7 separate regions of the Homo sapiens genome follow, and all the other regions are linked to region 1. The links are contacts of gene promoters, found by promoter capture Hi-C in blood cells and fetal thymus (Javierre and others, 2016). All regions are on one chromosome and are shown on one strand. Each heading gives the region's core, a stretch centred on a gene start or on the middle of the fragment in contact. The rest is flanking DNA. Distances are from core to core; before and after follow the strand shown. Region 1 holds the start of MTHFD2 (methylenetetrahydrofolate dehydrogenase (NADP+ dependent) 2, methenyltetrahydrofolate cyclohydrolase). Region 2 overlaps TPRKB (TP53RK binding protein). Region 3 has its middle 16 kb from the start of TPRKB. Region 4 overlaps STAMBP (STAM binding protein). Region 5 holds the start of LOXL3 (lysyl oxidase like 3). Region 6 overlaps STAMBP (STAM binding protein). Region 7 has its middle 5.6 kb from the start of ACTG2.

The links. Contacts are between HindIII fragments. The CHiCAGO score rates a contact against its expected background, and 5 or more counts as called.
Region 2: a contact is called between a fragment that was not itself captured here and the fragment with the promoter of MTHFD2 in region 1, in 7 of 17 cell types (non-activated CD4 T cells, fetal thymus, erythroblasts and 4 more). The highest score is 8.1, in non-activated CD4 T cells.
Region 3: a fragment that was not itself captured here is called in contact with the fragment with the promoter of MTHFD2 in region 1 in 1 of 17 cell types (total B cells); the score reaches 5.2 in total B cells.
Region 4: a contact is called between a fragment that was not itself captured here and the fragment with the promoter of MTHFD2 in region 1, in 14 of 17 cell types (activated CD4 T cells, erythroblasts, total CD8 T cells and 11 more). The highest score is 14.3, in activated CD4 T cells.
Region 5: a contact is called between a fragment that was not itself captured here and the fragment with the promoter of MTHFD2 in region 1, in 4 of 17 cell types (naive CD4 T cells, activated CD4 T cells, fetal thymus and 1 more). The highest score is 8.4, in naive CD4 T cells.
Region 6: a fragment that was not itself captured here is called in contact with the fragment with the promoter of MTHFD2 in region 1 in 14 of 17 cell types (activated CD4 T cells, naive CD4 T cells, naive B cells and 11 more); the score reaches 9.6 in activated CD4 T cells.
Region 7: a contact is called between a fragment that was not itself captured here and the fragment with the promoter of MTHFD2 in region 1, in 6 of 17 cell types (activated CD4 T cells, naive B cells, naive CD4 T cells and 3 more). The highest score is 10.3, in activated CD4 T cells.

The regions. Positions count from the first base shown.
Region 1 is chr2:74,197,045-74,200,263 of GRCh38, forward strand. MTHFD2 (methylenetetrahydrofolate dehydrogenase (NADP+ dependent) 2, methenyltetrahydrofolate cyclohydrolase) reads left to right here and starts at 1,571. Exons shown (of 8, transcript NM_006636.4): 1 at 1,571-1,698. The coding sequence starts at 1,598. RefSeq lists an enhancer at 1,233-1,791 and silencers at 1,500-1,639, 1,830-2,109, 2,240-2,329. The HindIII fragment of the contact is 3,357 bases long and covers 1-3,219 here.
Region 2 is chr2:73,731,909-73,735,127 of GRCh38, forward strand. It overlaps TPRKB (TP53RK binding protein), which reads right to left. Exons shown (of 5, transcript NM_016058.5): 2 at 2,521-2,683; 3 at 255-377. The coding sequence starts at 2,661. Among named protein-coding and RNA genes, the nearest start is that of TPRKB, 3.8 kb to the right of the region's middle. The HindIII fragment of the contact is 4,504 bases long and covers 1-3,219 here.
Region 3 is chr2:73,751,985-73,755,203 of GRCh38, forward strand. No RefSeq gene overlaps it. Among named protein-coding and RNA genes, the nearest start is that of TPRKB, 16 kb to the left of the region's middle. RefSeq lists a silencer at 2,014-2,197. The HindIII fragment of the contact is 4,937 bases long and covers 1-3,219 here.
Region 4 is chr2:73,842,700-73,845,918 of GRCh38, forward strand. STAMBP (STAM binding protein) reads left to right here. Exons shown (of 10, transcript NM_213622.4): 3 at 2,114-2,189; 4 at 2,468-2,563. All of the region lies in intron 1 of LOC112268419 (a long non-coding RNA gene), which reads right to left. Among named protein-coding and RNA genes, the nearest start is that of STAMBP, 15 kb to the left of the region's middle. The HindIII fragment of the contact is 1,321 bases long and covers 902-2,222 here.
Region 5 is chr2:74,553,107-74,556,325 of GRCh38, forward strand. LOXL3 (lysyl oxidase like 3) reads right to left here and starts at 836. Exons shown (of 14, transcript NM_032603.5): 1 at 770-836. DOK1 (docking protein 1) reads left to right here and starts at 1,614. Exons shown (of 5, transcript NM_001381.5): 1 at 1,614-1,708; 2 at 2,048-2,347; 3 at 2,469-2,562; 4 at 2,788-2,972; 5 at 3,202-3,219. The coding sequence starts at 1,649. RefSeq lists silencers at 1-230, 956-1,705 and enhancers at 1-230, 1,714-2,231, 1,856-1,915. The HindIII fragment of the contact is 1,450 bases long and covers 1,059-2,508 here.
Region 6 is chr2:73,861,586-73,864,804 of GRCh38, forward strand. STAMBP (STAM binding protein) reads left to right here. Exons shown (of 10, transcript NM_213622.4): 10 at 618-3,219. The coding sequence ends at 674. Among named protein-coding and RNA genes, the nearest start is that of ACTG2, 30 kb to the right of the region's middle. The HindIII fragment of the contact is 1,563 bases long and covers 753-2,315 here.
Region 7 is chr2:73,885,794-73,889,012 of GRCh38, forward strand. No RefSeq gene overlaps it. Among named protein-coding and RNA genes, the nearest start is that of ACTG2, 5.6 kb to the right of the region's middle. The HindIII fragment of the contact is 6,858 bases long and covers 1-3,219 here.

The DNA of each region.
Region 1 (3,219 bases), core at 321-2,820:
AGTTTTAACATTCTAGGTCTGTGATCTTTCTTCTCAATGTGAAATGAGGAATCTGTAACCGTTTTTAGGAGACTCATTGGTTTAGGAAAATCACCTTATTAAATTTACAGACTTGTTAAGAGCTACGAAGTGATGTGTCTCCTCAATGGATCCTATCAGAAGGCATATATGTGTGTTCCCTTACTGGGTGGTGCTAACTTTGATCACGTGGTTGAAGCAGTAACTGTCATGTTTCTTCACTGTAAATTTACCATTTTCCTTTCCTTCCTGGAGGCTAGAAGTAAAGGTCAAGGTGTTGACAGGATTGGTTTCCCCTGTTCTTTGTTTGTTTGTTTTGTTTTTTGAGACAGAGTCTTTTTGTTGCCCAGGCTGAAGTGCAGTGGCACAGTCTCGGCTCCCTGCAACCTCTGCCTCCCAGATTCAAGCGATTCTCATGCCTCAGTCTCCCCAGTAGCTGGGATTACAGCGTCCGCCACGATGCTCAGATAATTTTTTGTGTTTTTAGTAGAGACGGGGGTTTCAACACATTGGCCAGGCTGGTCTCGAACTCCTGGCCTCAGGTGATCCGTCCGCCTTGGCCTCCCAAAGAGCTGGGGATTACAGAAGTGAGCCACCGCGCCCTGCCCTCCTTAAGTTTCCTTGCGGGAGAGATACTTTGAGACTATGCAAAAAGTTTGCGGGAAAAAATACAGGAAGCCCAGTTGAATCTGAATTCCAGATAAGCCATAAATAAAGTATAAATATGACCTCCCAAAGTGTTTATCTAAAATTCTGATTTGATTGGGCATCTTGTGTTTTTATTTGCTAGATCTGGCAACCCTATATGTAAATATCTTGCTCCTCATCCAACTTTCACCCAGTTGTTTTGACATCTATTGCTGCTTCTGAATCAGGGTTGCACATGCAACCCTGACGTCTGTCTCTGAATATCTTTTATGATTTTACTTTTTTTGTTGTTGTTTTGAGATATGGTCTCACTCTCGTCGCCCAGGCTGGAGTGCAGTGGCGCGCCTTCAGCTCACTGCAGCCTCAACCTCCTGAACTCAGGTGATCCTTCCACCTCAGCCTCCCCAGTAGCTGGTACTGTAGTCACGCGCCACCATGTACTGATTTTGGAAAATGGTGATTTTCTAACTCCATCATTCCTTTTACTTCTGTTCGTTGGCATTCTATCAGCTTGTCTTTTCATCCACCCTTTACAGTGCTTGGCACACAGTAGGCGCTCATATAATTGTTCAACGAATGAATGAATGAACTTTTCTCTTGTGTTGTCCGGCCTTCGGTGACACTAGCGGCGTCAGGCAGGAGTTTGACTTCCTCAGCCTATCATGGCACGTTGCCGAGGCTTCAGCGCCTTACAGGACCTCGCTCCAGGCTCTTCTGGCTCCAATCAAAAGCAGGGCTCTTTCGGACTTCGCTTACGTTTAATAAAGAAAACCGGTTGGCCCCTTCGGCTCCACCTGGCTCAACAGACAGCCAGTGGCATGCGGCAGGGACCAATGGGTGGCGGAGGGAGGCGGGGCCTGCCACGAGGCCGCAGTATAACCGCGTGGCCCGCGCGCGCGCTTCCCTCCCGGCGCAGTCACCGGCGCGGTCTATGGCTGCGACTTCTCTAATGTCTGCTTTGGCTGCCCGGCTGCTGCAGCCCGCGCACAGCTGCTCCCTTCGCCTTCGCCCTTTCCACCTCGCGGCAGTTCGGTAAGAGGGTCACAGAGCTCGGTCAGCGCGGAAAGCTGAGGGGAACGGAGGGCGAGGGGCACGCCGGGCCCCCGAGGGACACCGAGGGAAGTCCTTCCCGAACATCTCCGCCCCGGCGGTGGTGGCCGCTGAGGGGTGTGGCGGGGCGACGTGGCACCGAGCGCCGCCGCAGCTCTCGACTGGGGCGCTTCCTCGGCGCGGAGGGCTGGTACCCGAAGCCCGCCTTTCGGAGGGAGCCGCTCTCCTGCGACTCGGGGCGTCGCCGGGGCCCGTGGCCAGTCGGCGGGCGGGACGGGGGTGGCGTGCGGAACGCGAAGGCATCAGTTTACGCGGAGCCTTCCGACAGCGCCGGCCGCCTCTGGCTGGGATGCTGAGAGTCGTCTGGGGGAGAACAGGCGAGGGTTCCAAAAGAGCAGCCCTCGGCGAGTTGTCCTTGCGGGGACCCTAGCGGCGGAGGGCGCTGCTGCAGCTGATGAAATCGCGGAGCCGACTTGCTCGGGGTCCCCGCGCCGCCCTCCTCCCTCCGCCGGTGGGAGTGGCCCGCGCTGCCTCCGCTCTGCCAGGAACATGAACGGACTCTGGGCACCCTAGCTTTGGCTGCAGCCCACCAGAGCCTGTCAGTGCCGGGCTGCGTACATAGAGGTGGCAAACATCCGGGAGGCTCCCAGGGCCTTAGGGAAAGGGGGAATGGAGAGTGACAAGTACCCATATTTCAGCGGTACTTGCAGAATTTCAGTTTTACAAGATGAAGAGTTCTGAAGATGGATGGTGGTGATGGTTGCACAACATATGAACGTATTTAATACCACTGAACTGCACTTAAAAATGGTTAAGATGGGCCGGGCGTGGTGACACGCGCCGAGGCTGAGGCACGAGAATCGCTTGAGCCCAGGAGTTCGAGGCTGCAGTGAGCCGTGATTGCACCACTGCCCTCCAGTCTGGGCGACAGAGCGAGACCCTGTCTCAAAAAAAAAAAAAAAAAAAAAAGTTGATAAGGTTTATGTTATGTGAATTTTACCACAATAACAAAATTGGGAAAAATATACAGGGGAGGAGGAAAGGAAAAGCTCTGTTTGCATTTTTGGGTTTCCTTGGGAAGGTGATTTGGTCGGTCATTAGAGCGCTGGCATTGTTGGCATTGTTAGAGCCCTGCACCTTACAACATCAGCCCCTTCTTTTTTTCATCTAACGTTCACTGTGTACCAGACACTATGCCAAGCTGTGCGAATTCAAAGATGAGAAAAACTGTTCTTAATGGAGCTCATGTTCCTGACAAGGGGCAGAACACGCGTGTAATTTCCAGTCAGTGCGGAAATGCTGTTAGAAATATTTCAAAGGCGCTGCTTGTTGGAGCAATGAGTTCTTGAAGGAAAACGTGGGAGGGGACTTTCAGGGTTTTCCCTGGTCTGACTCTTGACCTCCCCCATGTTTCGTTACTGTGTGTTTTCTCCCCTTCTCCCTCTTCCTGAGTGCTGGCCTCATGTGACTGTGGACCAGACCTTTCCTAGGCTTCCATGGTCC
Region 2 (3,219 bases), core at 194-2,693, 470 kb before region 1:
GGTCTTCCTGACCCTATATGGTAAGAACAGATAAAATTAACCTCGCTTAATTTAGCTAAATTTTTGTTTACTCATATGTAAACTGTCTTAGTAAGAGGCAGGGTTAAACCTCAACTCTCTGTCCAGAGCTCTCTTCACTATTATTTGGGTTTATTACTAACCACTGGCTTGCAGGAATTTAGCCTCCAACCCAACACTGAGGAACACATATGTTATTATGACACGGTCAACAGAAATAGGAAAGTGCACATTACATTGTTATTTGGGGAAAGGTTGAAAATAATTTCAGTAGATAGAGTTCTTGTCTTCATTTTTCCCAGTTTGTAGAGGTGAACTGCTTTGTTTGCTGCCACAAGTATCTGAAATGGATCAACAATCTACCAAAGCAAGGAAAAAGAATTAATTACACATGGAGAATCTGCAGTGCCTGAAAACACATGGTAACTCATGGTTAACTCCAGTGTCAAGCTGTTTTACTTCATCACAATTCTTACGGTCTGTATTTTCAAAACTATTATCCCGGCTGGGCACGGTGGCTCACACCTGTAATCCTAGCACTTTGGGAGGCCAAGGTGGGTAGATCACCTGACGTCAGGGTTCAAGACCAGCCTGGCCAACACGGCGAAACCCTCTCTACTAAAAATACAAAAATTAGTCAGGCGTGGTGGCACGCACCTGTAATCCCAGCAACTCAGGAGGCTGAGGCAGGACAATTGCTTGAACCCGGGAGGCAGAGGTTGCCGTGAGCCAAGATCGCGCCATTGCACTCCAGCCTGGGCAACAAGAGTGAAACTGTCTCAAAAAAAAAAAAAACAAAAAACAACTATTATCCCAAGGGCCTGGGTAGTCAGGAAATCACAGAATTTTAAAGCTGCAAGGAACTTATGCAAATAGTAAAATTTTTTTAAATAACATTAATTGAGGGCTAATATTATGGGCATGATCATATTGCAAACATTTTACTTGTAATATTTTCTTTAATCCTCAAAACTACCCTATGAAATTGACACTATTATTAGTAGTAGTAGCAGTAGTAGTAGTATGTAATTGATGAGGAAATTGAGGCAAAGAATGTCTGGGTTTGAATCCCATCTCTGTCACCTATCACCTAGGAAACTTATGCAAGTTCATTAGCATTTTATTTGTTAGAGACCGATGAAACAGTATTCACTCCATAGGCTGTTGTGAAGATTAAGCAAGTTAGTATACGTAAAGCACTTGGAACAATGCTAGGAATGCAGTAAGCACTATATAAAGGTTGGTTATGTCTTGTTCAAAGGCCTAAGTAGTAGGTCTGGGATTAATTCCCGGTAACATGATCGCACTGCGTGTGCCCTGTTTTTTTGTTTTTTTTTTTTTTTGGAGACAGACAGAGTCTCTCGCTCCATTGCCCAGGCTGGAATGCAGTGGCTCAATCTCAATTCACTGTAACCTCCGCCTCCCAGGTTCAAATGATTCTTGTGCCTCAGCCTCCCGAGTAGCTGGGACTACCAGCACACACCACCACACCCAGCTACTTTTTGTATTTTTAGTAGAGACACGGTTTCACTATGTAGGCCAGGCTGGTCTCAAACTCCGGGCCTCAAGCAATCCACCCACCTTGGCCTCTGTGTGTACTCTTAACCACTACACTATTCCTCCTCTACAGACTGTCTTGTTAGGAACCCCCATTTTAAAGATGAGAAGCTGGAGATCCAGGCATTTCCCATATTAGACCCAGACCACAACCTTTCCTATTTCCTAGGGCAGGACCTGGCACTTCTGCCTCTATTCACTGTTATAGTCAAAGTTGGCTGCATCTGACTTGGACAAGAATTTTTTCCCTAACCGTGACAGATTTTTAGGCTACCCTATAACATCACAAATATTAATGTATACTTAAATGCCCTGTATGGCTCATTCATTCTTTTTTTTTTTTTTTTTTTTTGAGGCGGATTCTTGGTCTGTTGCCCAGGCTGGAGTGCAGTGGCACAATCTCGGCTCACTGCAACCTCTGCCTCCCAGGCTCAAGCGATTCTCCTGCCTCAGTCTCCTGAGTACAGGTGCCCACCACCATGCTCAGCTAATTTTTGTATTTTTAGTAGAGACAGGGTTTCACCATATTGGCCAGGCTGGTCTCAAACTCCTGACCTCATGATCTGCCTGCCTCGGCCTCCCAAAGGGCTGGGATTACAGGCGTGAGCTACCATGCCTGGCCATTTTTTTTTTCCAGACAGAGTTTTGCTCGTCGCCCAGGCTGGAGTGCAATGGCGCAATCTTGGCTCACTGCAACCTCTGCCTCCAGGGTTCAAATGATTTTCCTGCCTCAGCCTCCCGAGTAGCTGGGATTATAGGCGCCCGCCACCACGCCCAGCTAATTTTTGTATTTTTAGTTGAGACAGGGTTTCACCATGTTGGCCAGGCTGGTCTTCAACTCCTGACCTCAGATGATCCACCCGCCTCGGCCTCCTAAAGTGCTGGCATTACAGGCGTGAGCCACCGCACCCAGCAGGCTCATTCATTCTTAAAATTTATATTTACCACTGTAGGATTTATCAGTGATCCATCGATGGTGCCTTCCATGGCCTTTCTTCTCAAGTCTCCCGCATTTTTTACATCTTTAAATAACAGAAGGGTTACCCTGCATTCGGGAAATAGGTCCAGCTGATGTGTTAACTGCATTTCACAGATAAGCAGGATTCTACTGCACACAAAATGAAAAGACCAAAAGATTTCATTTAAAAGTTAACATCAGAACTCATTTCTTAATAAATATTCAAAAACTTTGAAAGTAACTTGATAAAAGTGTTAAACTAGAAAAATCCATCGCCAAAGCCCATTTGGCATCCTCATGAGATGTTGTCTTCCTAACCCTTCTGAGTTGTTCTGTTGTCATCCCCAGGGAAACGCCAAGGGGCCCAGCTGGTTGCTGTTTGTTCAGATGAGGCAGGCTCAGGTGCATGGTTGAAGGGCTGCTTCCCCAGCAGACAAGTAGGAGCAGAATGTCAGGAATTTTTTAAACCAGAGGTTGCTTACGGTATTAATGAAGTCTTACTCTATCTTAGTCTTTTTAACTTCCTGATCTCATCATTTTATTTATATTTTAGGAAGGCCTAGACATAAATATTAAGGAAGAAAATAATTTTAAAGAATAAAGTAGGCTGGGTGCAGTGGCTCATGCCTGTAATCTCAGCACTCTGGGAGGCCGAGGCGAGCAGATCACCTGAGGTTGGGAGTTCG
Region 3 (3,219 bases), core at 503-3,002, 440 kb before region 1:
GCCCCCCAGTCAGCTATGGCTCCAGCACCTCCACCTCCTTATGGGATTGTCTGGAGCAGGAGGGGAACACTCCCAAACCTGTCCTCCCCATGGAATTAGGACAGGTTGTGGTCTCGCCTTCCTGCAACTGACAGGAAACCCAATTTGGCCTGGGACCCACTGGTCCCTTAGTAGGGCAGTTTCCTCTGTGTCAATTCCCCACTGTGGGACTTGAATGGACAACAGTTTGGCATGATGTGGTTACATTTCCTTTTCCCACTTTGGAGCTGTTCAGTGGGAAAACAATATCTTTGGAAAAACAATAATCCCCCCTATCCCAACCCAAGCAAATGGCTGGGCTATTCTTGTCTATATTTCTGACCTACCACCCGACAAGGGCAGATACTCACTTTGTTAAAGTGCTGCTCACAGCAGAAGAAAGGCATGTAGTCACAGAAAAGGCTAGGGAAGAAGCAAATCGGCTCCATCTGGAGGCAGGAAACAATCACCCCTGGCCAATAGACTCAGTCCCTAACACAGAGACCAGGTGCGATGTAAATGGTGGGGCCTTTCCCACTTAGGACACTATGAGAACCACATCCTTGAAGGTTTGAGGAAAGGGGTTACTCAGGTTAAGAGCCTCAATAAGGTACAGGAAGTACAGCGGCAAGCATATGAGGACCCTTTGTAATTCCCAGAAAGACTCCATCAGACATGTGGAAAGTAGGTTGACGCTAACTAACCCTGAGGCACCGGACAATCAGAGAATGGTCAATGTGACCTTTATCAGCCACAGTGCCCTGATATTCAAAGAAAACTGCAAAAGGTAAATGGGATCCTTGGGTTGCCAATCTCACATTTAGTGGACTTAGCTTTTAAAGTGTACTATGCTCAGGATGAGGCTCAGGAAAGTGCAAATTGAAGCAACAAGTAACTCACTGGCAGCTGTGCTTGACTACCAACCTAGGGGAAAAGGAAGAAATCAAAGAGCGGCTCACGCCCCCTTCAGAAAAAAAACCAATATGCCTATTGTAAGAAGGAGGGACACTGGAAAAAGGGCTGTCCCAAATTGACCAAAGCAGCTAGCAAGTGCAGTGTCCCTCAAAATCAGATGAGGAGAGAGAATAATATTTAGATGAAGACTGATGTGTCCCAGGGACTCCCTTAGACTTGGAGCAACCAGTGGCTATATCCCCACAGGATTCCTAGATACAACTGACAGTGGGGAACAGAATGATTGACTTTTTACTTGACACAGTGCCACATATTAATTAATTAACAATTGTCTCTCTCCAGCTTTGGGAAAAACCATTACTGTTACACGGATATTGGGAGACACCATTATCCCTTTCTACAATCTTCAGGTTACCATTTACGAGAGACCGGCCTAGGGCATAGTTTCTTGTACATGCTTAATGCCCAGTGCCCCTCCTGGGCTGGGATTTGCTTGCCAAATTGTATGCTCAACTTGTCTTTCCCCCCAGATGCCTAGATATAATGATTCCTTCTGAACAAGTTTGCAGGTTTCAAATACTCCTGCTGCAACCAGAAAACGAAGAGGTTCAGGACATTCCAGAAGAAATTCTCACACAGGTAAGGAGAGATGTTTGGGCCCAAGGGAAGCCAGGGAGAGTGGTCACAGCCAAACCCATAAAAATTAAAAGAGAGACACAGAATACCCATTAAAGGAAGTGGCATGAAAGGGTATTCAACCACTCTTGGAAGGCTTTTTTGGCACAAGGACTGATTTGGTCCTGTAATTCTCCCTTTAACATTCCTGTTCTACGGTGGGCAGCAAGCCACCCAGGTGCTGAGGCAAGAGACCGAGGGCACAAGTTGTTCCAGTATAATAAAATATATAAAACAACAAGAGTTATACTAGATCTAAATCATAGACATGATTATATATGAATATCATTAATCATTAGTTTGTAGCAATTACTCTTTATTCCAATACTGTAATAATCCTCGCTCTATAATCATAACCTAGGAAAAACCAGGCCATACAGAGATAGGAACCGAAGGGACATAGTGAGTGAGAAGTGATCAGAAGACAAGAGTGCAAGCCTTCTGTTATGCCCGGACAGGGCCACCAGAGGGCTCCTTGGTCTAGTGGTAATGCCAGCGTCTGGGAAGACGCCCATTGCCAAGCAGACCGTGGTCTAGCAGTAGCATCAGTGTCAAGGAAAAACACCCGCTACTTAGCAGACCGGGAAAGGGAGTCTCCCTTTCCCTGGGGGAGTTTAGAGGAGATTCTACTCCTCCACCTCTTATGGAGGGCCTGACATCAGTCAGGCCCGCCCGCAGTTATCCGGAGGCCTGACCCTGTCTCCCTGTGATGCTGTGCTTCAGTGGTCACGCTCCTAGTCTGCTTTCAAGTTCCATCCTGTACACCTGGCTCTGCCTTTTAGATAACAGTAGCAAAATTAATGAAAGTACTAAAAGTCTCTGATATGCAGAAATAATGGCGTAAGCTGTCTCTCTCTCGCTCTCCCTCTCTCTGCCTCGGCTGCCAGGCAGGGAAGGGCCCCCTGTCCAGTGGACACGTGACTCACGTGACCTTATCAATCACTAGAGATGACTCACACTCTTTACCCTGCCCCTTTTGCCTTGTATCCAATAAATAACAGTGCAGCCAGGCATTCGGGGCTACTACTGGTCTCTGCATCTTGGTGGTAGTGGTCCCCCAGGCCCAGCTGTCTTTTATCTCTTTGTCTTGTGTCTTTATTTCTACAATCTCTCGTCTCCACACATGGGGAGAAAAACCCACTGACCCTGTGGGGCTGGTCCCTACATCTTACCATCATGCAAGTCCCATTAAGACAACTACAGTTTCGGCTGGGCGTGGTGGCTCACGCCTGTAATCCCAGCACTTTGGGAGGCCGAGGCGGGCGGATCACGAGGTCAGGAGATCAAGACCATCCTGGCTAACATGGTAAACCCCATCTCTACTAAAAATACAAAAAAGTTAGCCAGGCGTGGTGGCAGGCACCTGTAGTCCCAGCTACTCAGGAGGCTGAGGCAGGAGAATGGCTTGAACCTGGGAGGCGGAGCTTGCAGTGAGCCGAAATCGTGCCACTGCACTCCAGGCTGGGTGACAGAGCGAGATTCGTCTCAAAAAAAAAAAAGACAACTACAGTTTGTACAAGACTTAGGGCCAGTAATGAAACAGTCTAGGACATACACCCTATGGTAACTAACCCCTATAGCTTGCTGATCACTTTGTCAGGAGAACTAGGT
Region 4 (3,219 bases), core at 312-2,811, 350 kb before region 1:
AAAGTCACAATTTCCAAGAACCTATCAACATTAAGGACTTACTGTGTATATGTACATACTTGTACATATATGTAATGTTTACTCATCAAATATTTATTGAGTGCCTCTTTATACAAGGCACTGTGCTGGCTTCCAAGGAGTATACAAAGAAGCATGAAACACAGAAATCTCTGGCCTCAGGAAGCTCGCAGTGTAGTTCTATAATAAGAGCATAAGTAAAAATAAAACATAGTGTTTATATGACATAGTACTTTCTTAGCTGATTCAGGCCTCAATACAAAGCACATTCAGCCTGCTAAAGGTAGTAAATATTAATATGTATCTTGGCTTTTGGGGCTAAGATGAGAGTTCTACTGAATCATCTATCAGTCTCTAAAATATAAGAAATATGTCTTATTTATCTTAATAGATTCTTCAGGACTTTATGGTTTGAACAAATGAATCTGTATTTCTTTTAAATATAGACTTCAAGGAAACTGTTTTATATCTTTCTTTTTTTTTTTTTTTTTCCAAATAGAGATAGGATCTCCCTCTGTCACCCAGGCTGGAGTGCAGTGGTGTGATCAAAGCTCACTGTAACCTCAGACTTCTGGGATCGAGAGATCCTCCTGCCTCAGCCTCCCAAGCAGCTGGGACTACAGATGCATACCACCACACCCAGCTAATTTTTGTGTTTTTTTATGTTTTGTTATATATGTTTGTGTATGTATATATATATATGTATATATATATATAAATTAAAAAATATAAATAGAGACAAGGTCTCACCCTGTTACCCAGGCTGGTCTTGAACTCCTGGGCTCAAGCAGTCTTCCTGCCTCGGTCTCCCAAAGTGCTGGGATTACAGGCATGAGCCACCGCACCCAGCCTCTTTTATATCTTCTTCATGAACCCAAAAGGAAGCTTTTTAAAGAACCATTTTTATTTTAGAGTCCATCCCTGCCTTGAGGAGCCTTATCAAGTTGGATCAAAATGAAACTTGTGTGCCTAATATAGAACTGAAGGATGAGGACTTATCTTTAGAAAGTTTGTTTTGGTGGGGATCATCTTTTTTCTTTATTGAGGATTCTTCTTCCAATTACTTCTGCCCCATGGGCAGTAAGTAGAAAAGAGTTTATCCCAATTACAATATAATATTTTAGAGCTATCAGCAAGCTACCTTCAATTTATTTTTTTATCTCAGTTTCTGTGTATTACAACTTAATTCTGTTAAAAGACATCTTTGTTCAGAATCCCTCCAGTAGTTCTAGACATTCCAGAATCCGTATGGAAGAAGTATGGTGTAGTGGTTAAAAGAATAGGCTCTGGAGCCAGCCTGCTCATACTGAAATTCTGAATCTGCCACTTTCTTTCTGTGACAGGTTACTGGACTTTTATTTATTTTCACTGCCCCTAAGTAGATGTCTTAAATGTTAGAGATTTGTGAATTAATTAAGTTTATTCTCCCCACTGAGCTTTAGAGCCATGGACAAGAACCAAAAGATGAAATCTAGCATCTTATATTTACCTAAGCACTTTTCATCAAAGACAGTGCATGCTAACATGTAATATGCACATACTACATGCATAGAACACATGCACTAAGTATTTCCATGCATTTTTGTATGATGCAAAGTAGTATTCTTCTTTGAAGGAACACGAATCCCAAAGGAAAAAAGCCAAAGTTAAAGGTTACATAAGAGCTAGAAGGAGTAAGGAAACATGGTTTTCTCTTGCTTCCTGCCCATGGCTGCCAAACGGTTCTCTGAAGACTGCTATGTGACAGAAGCCCTTTCCTTTGAAAACCTGTCACGTCACAACAAGAAAAAGATCTCTTTCTTTGGAGGTACATTTTTGGGCACAAGAAAGGCTTTTTAAAATTTTTTTGGCCATCTTTTTCATTGTAGGAGTCTGGTGCTTGCTGCCTAGTTTGGGAGTAGAGGAAAAGACTCTGGCTCTTTAGGGGGATAGAGATGGGAAAGGAGCATGGCCCAGCTGGGTGTATTAGCTCTCCCTCCGCTGCACTTCTGGAACCTTTCATATAAGGGCTTCAGGATAAGGGGGTTGCATAGCTTTAGGGTCTTATGGACATTTGGACCATTTGCTTCATAATCATTTTGAACTGTTTCCTTAGGCTCTTTATTGAGAAACTACCAAAACATCGAGATTACAAATCTGCTGTCATTCCTGAAAAGAAAGACACAGTAAAGGTGGGTCTTCACTTTCATTGTTGCCCATCTAAAAGCTTCAGAGCAGCACAGACTGACTTCAAGATAAAAGTAGTAGTCTCTGCATCTGAGTACCAGATCCTGCAATAGGAGATAAGGCCATTTCACCACAACAGTTCTGAAGTAGCAGGTATGGTACAGTAGGGGGTATTTTAAATCATTTTGGGAAATGTTGCAGTCACCAACTTGACTTAAGTCTTCTTTTGGATTCTGTAATTTTCTGGCATTGTTCTAATTCTATTTTCTGTTTTGTGTCTCAGAAATTAAAGGAGATTGCATTTCCCAAAGCAGAAGAGCTGAAGGCAGAGCTGTTAAAACGATATACCAAAGAATATACAGAATATAATGAAGAAAAGGTCAGTATATAACAGCTAAGAAGAAAATTATTTTGCTTTTTTAGGCTGTGCCCTGGGATTGTAATATGACATTTCAATATATCCTGTGCTTTTAATGTGCTGTTTCACCTTTTTTGGGCAAAGACCAGAAACTCAAAAAAGTAGAACACCAGTGGTTAGGCTCAGGGTTGTAACACAGATATAGCCTATTTGTCGAAGAGAGTGACTTGAGGGACAGAAAATCTGTCGCCTACCTGCTATGTCTAGAGTGAGAATCATAAGAACAATGAACATTCTCTCCAAAACATAGGTTTTTAGATCAGAGAATTTGAGGGTTGGATTCACATTTGGTTATACCTGAAGCTATTTATAAGAATTGACTTTTCAAGCTATTTTTTTTTTTTTTTTTTGAGACAGTCTCACTCTGTCGCCTAGGCTGGAGTGCAGTGGCACGATCTCAGCTCACTGCAACCTCTGCCTCCCCGACTCAAGTGATTCTCCTACCTCAGCCTCCCGAGTGACTGGGACTACAGGCATCCGCCACCATACCCGGCTAATTTTTGTATTTTTAGTAGAGATGGGGTTTCACCATGTTGGCCAAGATGGTCTCAAACTCCTGACCTCAAGTGATCCGCCTGCCTCGGCCTTCCAAAGTGCTGGGATTACAGGCGTGAGCC
Region 5 (3,219 bases), core at 534-3,033, 360 kb after region 1:
GTGAGAAGGAGAGGGATTGACAAGAGCCAAGGGGCGGACGTGGGAGGGATCCAGATGACCCCATTTACTCAGAGGGAGGACAGACAGCTGTACTGATTGTGCAGAGAGGCACGTAAGGGGCCCTAGGCGGCCCTGGGATCACAGATCCCCTGAATGGGAGCCCAGAGTCCTAACCCAGCAGATTCCCAGGCAGGGAAGGCTGGCACCAAAGCTCGCCTGGAGAACCTGCTGCACGCCCTCCCCAACACGCAGGCTCTCAGATGCCCTGCAGGGTCAAGAGGCCCAGGAGGGCCAGGCCTCAAGGCTGGGCGGGGGATGGGGTAGGGTTGTCCCAGCCTCCTGCCAACACCACCATCCCTGTCACCGGGCAACGGGAGGCCAGGCGCTATGGCTCCTCAGCCAAGGCCTTCTCTGCCTAGGGCTGAGAACAGCCCCTCTACAGCAAGCCCCCGTCAACATGCTTCCCCCAACCCAAACAATCAATCCAACAAGGCAGCTTTGTTCTGGGTTGGGGACCCAGGGGCAGCGCCTCCCGGAGGAGCCCCCTCCCTTAGGGCGCTCCTGGCGGCCCTGTTCGAACACCCGTAGCCCCCGCCTCCGGTATGTGCCTCCTCCGTGTACTCTGTCTCACTTGCCCTTTGACAAGAATCAAACTCTCAGTTGGGTGGCTTCCCCTCGACTCCATCCCACACCACCCGTTTTCCCTGGTCCCTCCACATCCTCTCCATCCCCTACTCATTCCCTCTGCGGTTAGCGTGACTCCCCCTACCTTGGCCGAGCAGGACCCTAAGGGCTGGGAGAAGAGTGCTGGTCCTGGAGATCAGTCCTAGGACTTCCAAAAAAAAAAAAAAATGCTCGGCCAGGGGAGACTGGACCCCCCTCTCTCCCCCTTCTCCGTTCGTCCCTCCCACATCCCCCTGAGCCCTCCCACATTCCGCCTTCTCCTTCCATTCCTCCCGGCCAGTTCCCTCCTCTCCTCCTCTGGGTCCTCCCTCCCCGTGGAGCTGGCCACTGCCGCGCCCCCTCCCCCTCCCTGGCCCTCCCGGCTCGTTCAATGAAGCTTTCTCTTCCCGCGGCATGGAGGCCAGGCCTCTGCGGTCAGGGAGCTGACATGCAAGCGGCGGCCGGGCGGCGGGGCGGCCCCGGTGGTGGCGGGAAGCGGTTCAACCCCAGCCCTCCCTCCGAGTCCCGGGCCAGCGGAGTCTAAACAGCCCGGCTCGGGCGGGGCTGGGGGCGGGCCCGGCCAGGGTAAATAAAGCCCCGGAGGCCCGTGTGGGTCTCTCCGGTGCCCGGGGCGCTTTCGGGGTGATGTCATGGCTTTCACTCTGACGTCACCTTGGGCATATGACGTCACGCGCAGCCACCACGCCCAGAGGCCAGGGCCCTCGCGCCAAAACCGAGGACTTTCGGTGGAGCCACTGGCGCGCCCCCACGACGGCGGGTAGGGGCCTGGGGTGCTGCAGCTCCCGGCTAATCCGGGGGTCTCCACCATTCCTTCTCGCTCCTCTCCCTCACCCCACCGCGACCCCCCCAGCGGCTGCCGGCGGGGGCCGGGGAGGGGCGGAAACTCCTCCAGGGAACCCGGCCCCGCCTCCCGCCCCGCCTCCCGCCGCAGGGCCAGGAAGCGCGGAAGGAACCGCCGGGGGCCATGGACGGAGCAGTGATGGAAGGGCCGCTTTTTTTGCAGAGTCAGCGCTTTGGGACCAAGGTAGTCTGGCGCATGGATGCCGAACCTTATCCGGGCTAGTAGTGGGTGAGAGAGCCCAGAAACAGGGAGAGGTGGGCAGCGGGCTGGAGAGCGGCGCCGGGAGTTGGAGAGCCTGTGACTTTCCCGTGAAGTTGCTTTGCACACTCCCGGGAAGCGTCTGTAGTCTAGGGGTTCTGGTCCTGGGGAGACGGAGTGGCATCGTCCTTGGGAAACTTCGCCCCCAACCCCGTTTGGAAGCCCCAGATCCCAAATCGACTTGCGCCGCAACCTCCTTCCCCGTCGGGACCCGGGCCGCCTGCGCACGCCACTCCCTCTCGAGCACTCTCTCTCTCTCCCTAGAGGTGGAGGAAGACCTGGGCCGTGCTCTACCCGGCCAGTCCCCACGGCGTAGCGCGGCTCGAGTTCTTTGACCATAAGGGGTCGAGCTCTGGGGGTGGCCGAGGGAGCTCGCGCCGCCTGGACTGCAAAGTGATCCGTCTGGCTGAGTGTGTGAGTGTGGCCCCCGTCACCGTGGAGACCCCCCCTGAGCCCGGCGCCACTGCCTTCCGCCTGGACACTGCTCAGCGCTCGCACCTGCTGGCGGCCGACGCGCCGTCCAGTGCAGCCTGGGTGCAGACGCTGTGCCGAAACGCCTTTCCGGTGAGGAGCTGCGGCGATGCGGGGTGGGGGCAGTTACAGAGGCAGAGAAATGGGGCTGCCTCAGACCGACCCCCGCTCCCCGCTGAGGAAATTACGGGTTTCTCGATGCTCTCTACTACAGAAAGGCAGCTGGACTCTGGCGCCTACCGATAACCCACCTAAGCTTTCTGCCCTGGAGATGCTGGAGAACTCCTTGTACAGCCCTACCTGGGAAGGTAGACGCCTCAGAAGCCCGGGCAGGGATGGAGTGAAGAGGAGGAGGGCCGAGGGCCTTTGGGAAGTGGGTGGATACCCAGGGGCCCATGGGGAAGTAAGAAGTAGGAAGGCCCTGAGATCTGGCTTCCGAGTGAGTGCTTGGACACTATGCTCATGAGTCCTCTGGGTCCCCACTGCTGCCCCCGTCCCTCCCCCGCAGCTGTCTAATCGTGTATGCCTTCCAGGATCCCAATTCTGGGTAACGGTGCAGAGGACTGAGGCCGCCGAGCGCTGTGGCCTGCATGGCTCCTACGTGCTGAGGGTGGAGGCTGAAAGGCTGACTCTCCTGACCGTGGGGGCCCAGAGTCAGATACTGGAGCCACTCCTGTCCTGGCCCTACACTCTGTTGCGTCGCTATGGCCGGGACAAGGTGCAGGGGCTGTCCGGGAGGGCTTCCTGGGTTGGGCAGCTGTGGGAGGGGTGGGGCAGGACAGAAAGTGGGAAGCTCTGACCTTTGGATCCCCCTTTCTTGCCTACCCGGTGACCCCGCGTCTGTTCGCAGGTGGTCTCTTCTTTGTAGATACCCTAACTAGTGCAGGCGTGTGACTCACTTCCTCTGATGGCTCCTGGTAATGTGTTTCCCCCTCTACCCTCCTTAGGTCATGTTCTCTTTCGAG
Region 6 (3,219 bases), core at 284-2,783, 340 kb before region 1:
TCAGCTCACTGCAGCCTCTGCCCCCCAGGTTCAAACAATTCTGCTGCCTCAGCCTCTCGAGTAGCTGGGACTACAGGTGCGCGCCGCCACACCGGGTTAAATTTTTTTTTTTTTTTTTTTTTTAGTAGGGTCAGGGTTTCACCATGTTGGCCAGGATGGTCTTGATCTCCTAACCTCATGATCTGCCCACCTTGGCCTCCCAAAGTGCTGGGATTACAAGCGTGAGCCACCGCACCCAGCCAAAAAGTGGTTTTTTAAAATGACTTTTCAGGCCGGGCACGGTGGCTCACGCCTATAATCCCAATACTTTGGGAGACTGAGGCAGGCAGATTACTTGAGGTCAGGAGTTCAAGTCCAGGCTGACCAACATGGCGAAACCCCACCTCTACTAAAAACACAAAATTAGCCAGGCATGGTGGCTCGTGCCTGTAATCCCAGCTACTGGGAAAGCTAAGGCAGAAGAATCGCTTGAACCCAGGAGGCGGGGGTTGCAGTGAGCCGAGATCGTGCCACTGCACTCCAGCCTGGGCAACAGAGCAAGACCCTATATGAAGAAAAAAAAAAAAAAGACTTTTCAGAATTTTCTAGGACTCCACCTTTCTTTTTTCCTATTGCAGAGCTGCAGCCACGTGACTGTTGTGGACAGAGCAGTGACCATCACAGACCTTCGATGAGCGTTTGAGTCCAACACCTTCCAAGAACAACAAAACCATATCAGTGTACTGTAGCCCCTTAATTTAAGCTTTCTAGAAAGCTTTGGAAGTTTTTGTAGATAGTAGAAAGGGGGGCATCACCTGAGAAAGAGCTGATTTTGTATTTCAGGTTTGAAAAGAAATAACTGAACATATTTTTTAGGCAAGTCAGAAAGAGAACATGGTCACCCAAAAGCAACTGTAACTCAGAAATTAAGTTACTCAGAAATTAAGTAGCTCAGAAATTAAGAAAGAATGGTATAATGAACCCCCATATACCCTTCCTTCTGGATTCACCAATTGTTAACATTTTTTTCCTCTCAGCTATCCTTCTAATTTCTCTCTAATTTCAATTTGTTTATATTTACCTCTGGGCTCAATAAGGGCATCTGTGCAGAAATTTGGAAGCCATTTAGAAAATCTTTTGGATTTTCCTGTGGTTTATGGCAATATGAATGGAGCTTATTACTGGGGTGAGGGACAGCTTACTCCATTTGACCAGATTGTTTGGCTAACACATCCCGAAGAATGATTTTGTCAGGAATTATTGTTATTTAATAAATATTTCAGGATATTTTTCCTCTACAATAAAGTAACAATTAACTTATGTTTTTGTGCTTCAGAGTGATCCATTTGATCAAGCATTGTATAAACAGGTTAAAAAAAAGGTATGGTTGTTTTGGAAAGGTGAAGGAAAAATGGAATTTGAGATATACTGACACTGATGGTGTGTCCCAGTTCACTTTTAATTACTCCTTGTTTTTTATCTGCCTGTTGCCATCTTCCAGAGGTGTTGTGAAGTCATCTCTGTTCTTTTGGTGCTGTCTCAAATGGGTCAACCATTCACTTCCTCCTTATGCCCTCCATGCTTTTGGCTGAGGATAATGAAGCCTTTGTTTGGAGTACCAGGTTACACTCCAATAAATGATTACATTTCCCAGCCACCCCACCCTACCAATTTCATTGTGTTGGCTGTTCTTTTCTGACTAAGGCAATACCTAGGAAAACGCTTGAAGCAGCAATTGTTACTGCAATTTTCTGTGAGCTGAGCCTGGTGTTCTAGGTGGCCTAGAAATAATGGTGTCATTTGTGACACCTCGAGTGAGGGCAGGAGAGTAAATACTTTGGCTAGGAGAAGAGTGATTTATTCTTTATCAGAATTCTAGGTGGGGGAGGGAGAATCTGTGAATGCATAAAGTTTTCTTCATTTTTAAATTTTGTCTCAGTCTTTATTGCTTAGGTTAGTGGTCCTTGAACTTGTCCCCTGAAAGAGCCCAGTTCTCTATATTCTTTTTCTTCTCTTGGGTTCTTAATTCCCCATATAGTGGAAATTCCTTCTTTGCTGTTTTGGTATGGGTGGGTCTGGGGGCCAGCTGGGCTTGGACAAGCCATTTCCTGCTGCAGCCCAGAGCAGCCTGGCTGTTCCACCTTGCTCTAAACAGTCCTGAAATTGCCCAGTCCTCTGCTTTTGGGAAATCCATCCCCTTCTTCCCATTCTTTGTCTACCACTTAGCTTAGGGCTTTCTTACCTTTTATTTCGACTGTAGCCGTTGGCTTTTACCAAGTCTCTTTGTTTTTAGCATTTCTTCATTCCAGTCTGTTCTGCACACTTTGATCAGGAGAAGCTTCTCACATTCCAGCCATGTTCATGTTTTCTCTCTTGCTCAAAAACCTGCAATAGCTTCCCATTGCTGAAAATCTAAATTTAGCTTTTAGTCAGAACTTTCCACTTAAAGTTCTTACCCCTGGCTATATATTCAAATATCTAGGGAGCAATTTAAAAAATACTGATGCCTGTGTTCTACCCCCCACCAATTAAAGCTGAATCTCTAGGGTGGAGCCTCAGATGTTGTTTCTGCATTTGTCTTTCAAGCTGCTAGAATTCTCAAGTACAACCAGGGTTGACAACCACTGCATTGGTCTTTGATACCTAAGAATTGTGAGCTCTCTTATCCGTCTCTGCCCACCAAAGACATTCAGCCAGGTCAACAACATATCATACGTTGCAACCACATTGATCACAGACTGATCACCAAACTGCTATATTTTCTTTTCTCTTCCTCTAGGCACAAGATATCTTAGTGGCTAGATGGGTGCAGGAAATCAGTCTGTAGATCCCTCTTCATATCTGCTGCAGCCTAGCCACTGCAGAGGCACTCTGCATAGGATGGTCTAAGTGTCTCTGTCTTCATCTTACCTCTGTGGAGGAGACGTGGAATCAAGCCAGCCCACAAGCCCTGAGACTGGATAGGCCGGAGAGAAAGAGGAGTAGCCAGAGCGGTCGGGAAAAGAGGAAAGGAATACTGTGGGTAAAAGGGACAAAGACCACGCAACCTGAGGAAAGACATTGTATTGAAAGGGTAATGACTATTTGGCTAAAGGGACTGACTCCTGGGTTCCCGAGGCTCAAAGACCAGGAGACTTTTCCACTCTTGCAAGCTGCACAAGTACCATACTTAGTGTTCTGGGCTGAGAGGGGAGACAAAAGCATCGTCAGGTTGCCAAACAATGTCCCAGTTGCCCTGGG
Region 7 (3,219 bases), core at 381-2,880, 310 kb before region 1:
GGCAACCTCTGCCTCCCAGGTTCAAGTAATTCTTCTGCCTCAGCCTCCCAAGTAGCTAGGACTACAGGCATGTGCCACCGTGCCCAGCTAATTTTGTATTTTTAGTAGAGATGCGGTTTCGCCATGTTGGCCAGGGTGGTCTCGAACTCCTGATCTCAGGTGATCTGCCTGCCTCAGCCTCCCAAAGTGCTGGGATTACAGGTGTGAGCCACTGCGCCCAGCCCAAAAGGATGTTTAGAGCAGCTTTATGCATAACTGCCAAAACTTGGAGGCAACTAAGATGCCCTTCAGTAGGTGAGTGGATATGTAAACTGTAGTACATCCAAACAATGAAATATCACTCAGCACTAAAAAGAAATAAGATATCAAACCGTAAAAAAGACATGGAGAAAACTTAAATCTCTATTGCTAAGTAAAAGAAGTCAACCTTAAAAAGGCCACATACTGTACGATTTCAATTATATGGCATTCAAGAAAAGGCAAAACTATGGAGACAGCAAAAAGATCAATGGTTGCCAGGGGTTGTGGAGGGGAAAGGATGAATAGATGGTCAGTGAAATTAGTCCGTATGACACTACAGTATAAGGGTGGATACATGGCATTATACATTTGTCAAAACCCATTGAATGTACAGCACCAAGAGCAAACCCTAATGCAAACTATGAACTTTGGGTGATAATGATGTGTCAATGTAGGTTCATTGGTTATAACAAATGAACCACATTGGTATATGACTTTGATAGTGGAGAAACCTGAGAGTGTGTGGGTGTTGGGCGTAATGGAAACTCTCTATACTTTCTGTTCAATGTTTCTGTGAACCTAAAACTACTCTAAAAAAATAGTCTAGGCTGGGCACGGTGGCTCACCCCTGTAATCCCAGCGTTTTGGGAGGCCAAAGCAGGTGGATCATGAGGTCAAGAGATCAAGATCATCCTGGCCAACATGGTGAAACCCCATCTCTACTAAAAATACAAAGATTAGCTGGGTGTGGTGGTGCATGCCTGTAGTCCCAGCTACTGAGGAGGCTGAGGCAGGAGAATCACTTGAACCCGGGAGATGGAGGTTGCAGTGGGCTGAGATCACGCCATTGCACTCCAGCCTGGTGACAGAGAAAGACTCTATCTCAAAAAAAAAAAAAAAGTCTGTTTAATTAAAACACGACGCTCATATACAATTTTTAAAAAGTAGCCACCCATTAGGATGGCTACTTTAGAAAATAAAATACAACCCCGAAAATAACAAAGTGTTGGCAAGGATGTGGAGAAATTGGAATCATTGTGCACCACTGTTGGTGGAAATGGAAAATGATGTGGTCCCTATGGAAAACCATTTGGCACTTCATCAAAAAAGTAAAAAGAAAATTACCAGATGGTCCAGCAATTCTGTATCTGGGTGTATACCCAAAAGAAGTAAAAGCAGGGTCTCAAAGAGCTATTTGTACATCCATGTTCATAGTGGCATTATTCACAATAGCCAAGAAGTGAAAGGACTTCAAGTGTCACTCAATAAATGAATGGATAAACAGAATGTGTTATAGAGATACAATGAAGTATTATTCAGCTTTAAAAAGCAAGGAGGCCACACATTGGGTCATTCCTGTAATCCCTGAACTTTGGGAGACGCAGGCGGGAGGATCGCTTGAAGCCAGGAGTTCAAGACCAGCCTAGGCAACATATTGAGACCCGCCTCCCGCCTCCTCCACAAAAATTACAATTTTTTAAAAATTAGCTGGGTGTGGTGGAGCATGCCTATAGTCCTAGCTGTTTGGGAGGTTGAGGCAGGAGCATTGCTCAAGCCCAGGAATTTGAGGCTGCAGTGAGCTATGATCACGCCACTGCACACCAGCCTGGGTGACAAAGTAAGACCCTGTCTCCGAAAAATAAAATTACATAAATACAAAGCAAGGAAATTTTGACTCATACTACAGCATGGATGAACCTTGAGGGCAAACACTGTATGACTCCACTCTTACAAGGTATTCAGAGTTGTCAGATTCAGAGACAGCAAGTAGAAGAGCTGTTGCCAGGGGCTGGGGGAGGGCAAAGTGAGGAGTTGTTTAATGGATACTGTTTCAGTTTTGCAAGATAAAAACGTTCTGGAGACTGGTTGTATAACAATGTGAATATACTTAATAGTACAGAACCGCAGGGCACGGTGGCTCACACCTCTAATCCCAGCACTTTGGGAGGCTGAGGCAGATGGATCACCTGAGGTCAGGAGTTTGAGACCAGCCTGGCCAACATGGTGAAACCCCGTATCTACTGAAAATACAAAAGTTAGCTGGGCATGGTGGTGGGTGCCTGTAATCCCAGCTACTCAGGAGGCTGAAGCAGGAGAATCGCTTGAACCCGGGAGGCGGAGGTTGCAGTGAGCCGAGATTGCATCATTGCATTCCAGCCTGGGCAGCAGGAGTGACACACCGTCTCAAAAAAACAAAACAAAACAAAACAAAACAAAAACCATATAGAACCATACATTTTTAAATGGTTAATATTGTAAATTTTATATTATATGTGTTTTCCACAATTACAATTTTTAAAAGTTAAAATGTATAAAAAGAAGTGCTCAGCCTTCCTAAGGATGTTATAAAACAGACACTAAACAGGAAAGACATTTGATTAAACTTTAGTAAGGCAAATGCTACCAGACAAAATCGAAAGGCAAATGTTTAAACTGGGGGGAAAATATTTGCAACACTTGTAGTAGGCAAAAGGCTAATTATATCACTAATATAATATACCAAGATCTCTCATAACTCAAGAAGATAAAGGTGAACAATCCAATAGAAAAAAAAAGTAAACAGGAAGCAGCCATTTTCAGAGAAAGACAAGTTAAAAAAAAAAAAAAGTTAGGTCGGGCACAGTGGCTCATGCCTGTAATTCTAGCACTTTGGGGTGCTGAGGTGGGCAGATCACCTGAGGTCAGGAGTTCCAGACCAGCCTGGCCAATAGGGTGAAACTCCATCTCTACTAAAAAACACAAAAATTAGCTGGGCATGGTGATGCACACCTGTAATCCCAGCTACTCGGGAGGCTGAGGCATGAGAATCGCTTGAACCCAGGAGGCAGAGAGGTTGCAGTGAGCCAAGATCACACCACTGCACTCCAGCCTGGGTGACAGAGAGAGACTCTGTCTCAAAAAGAAAAAGAAGAAAAGAAAAGTTGATATAAGCAAAACATGTGTTCATTCTCATTAGTTACCACATAATTTTACACTTTC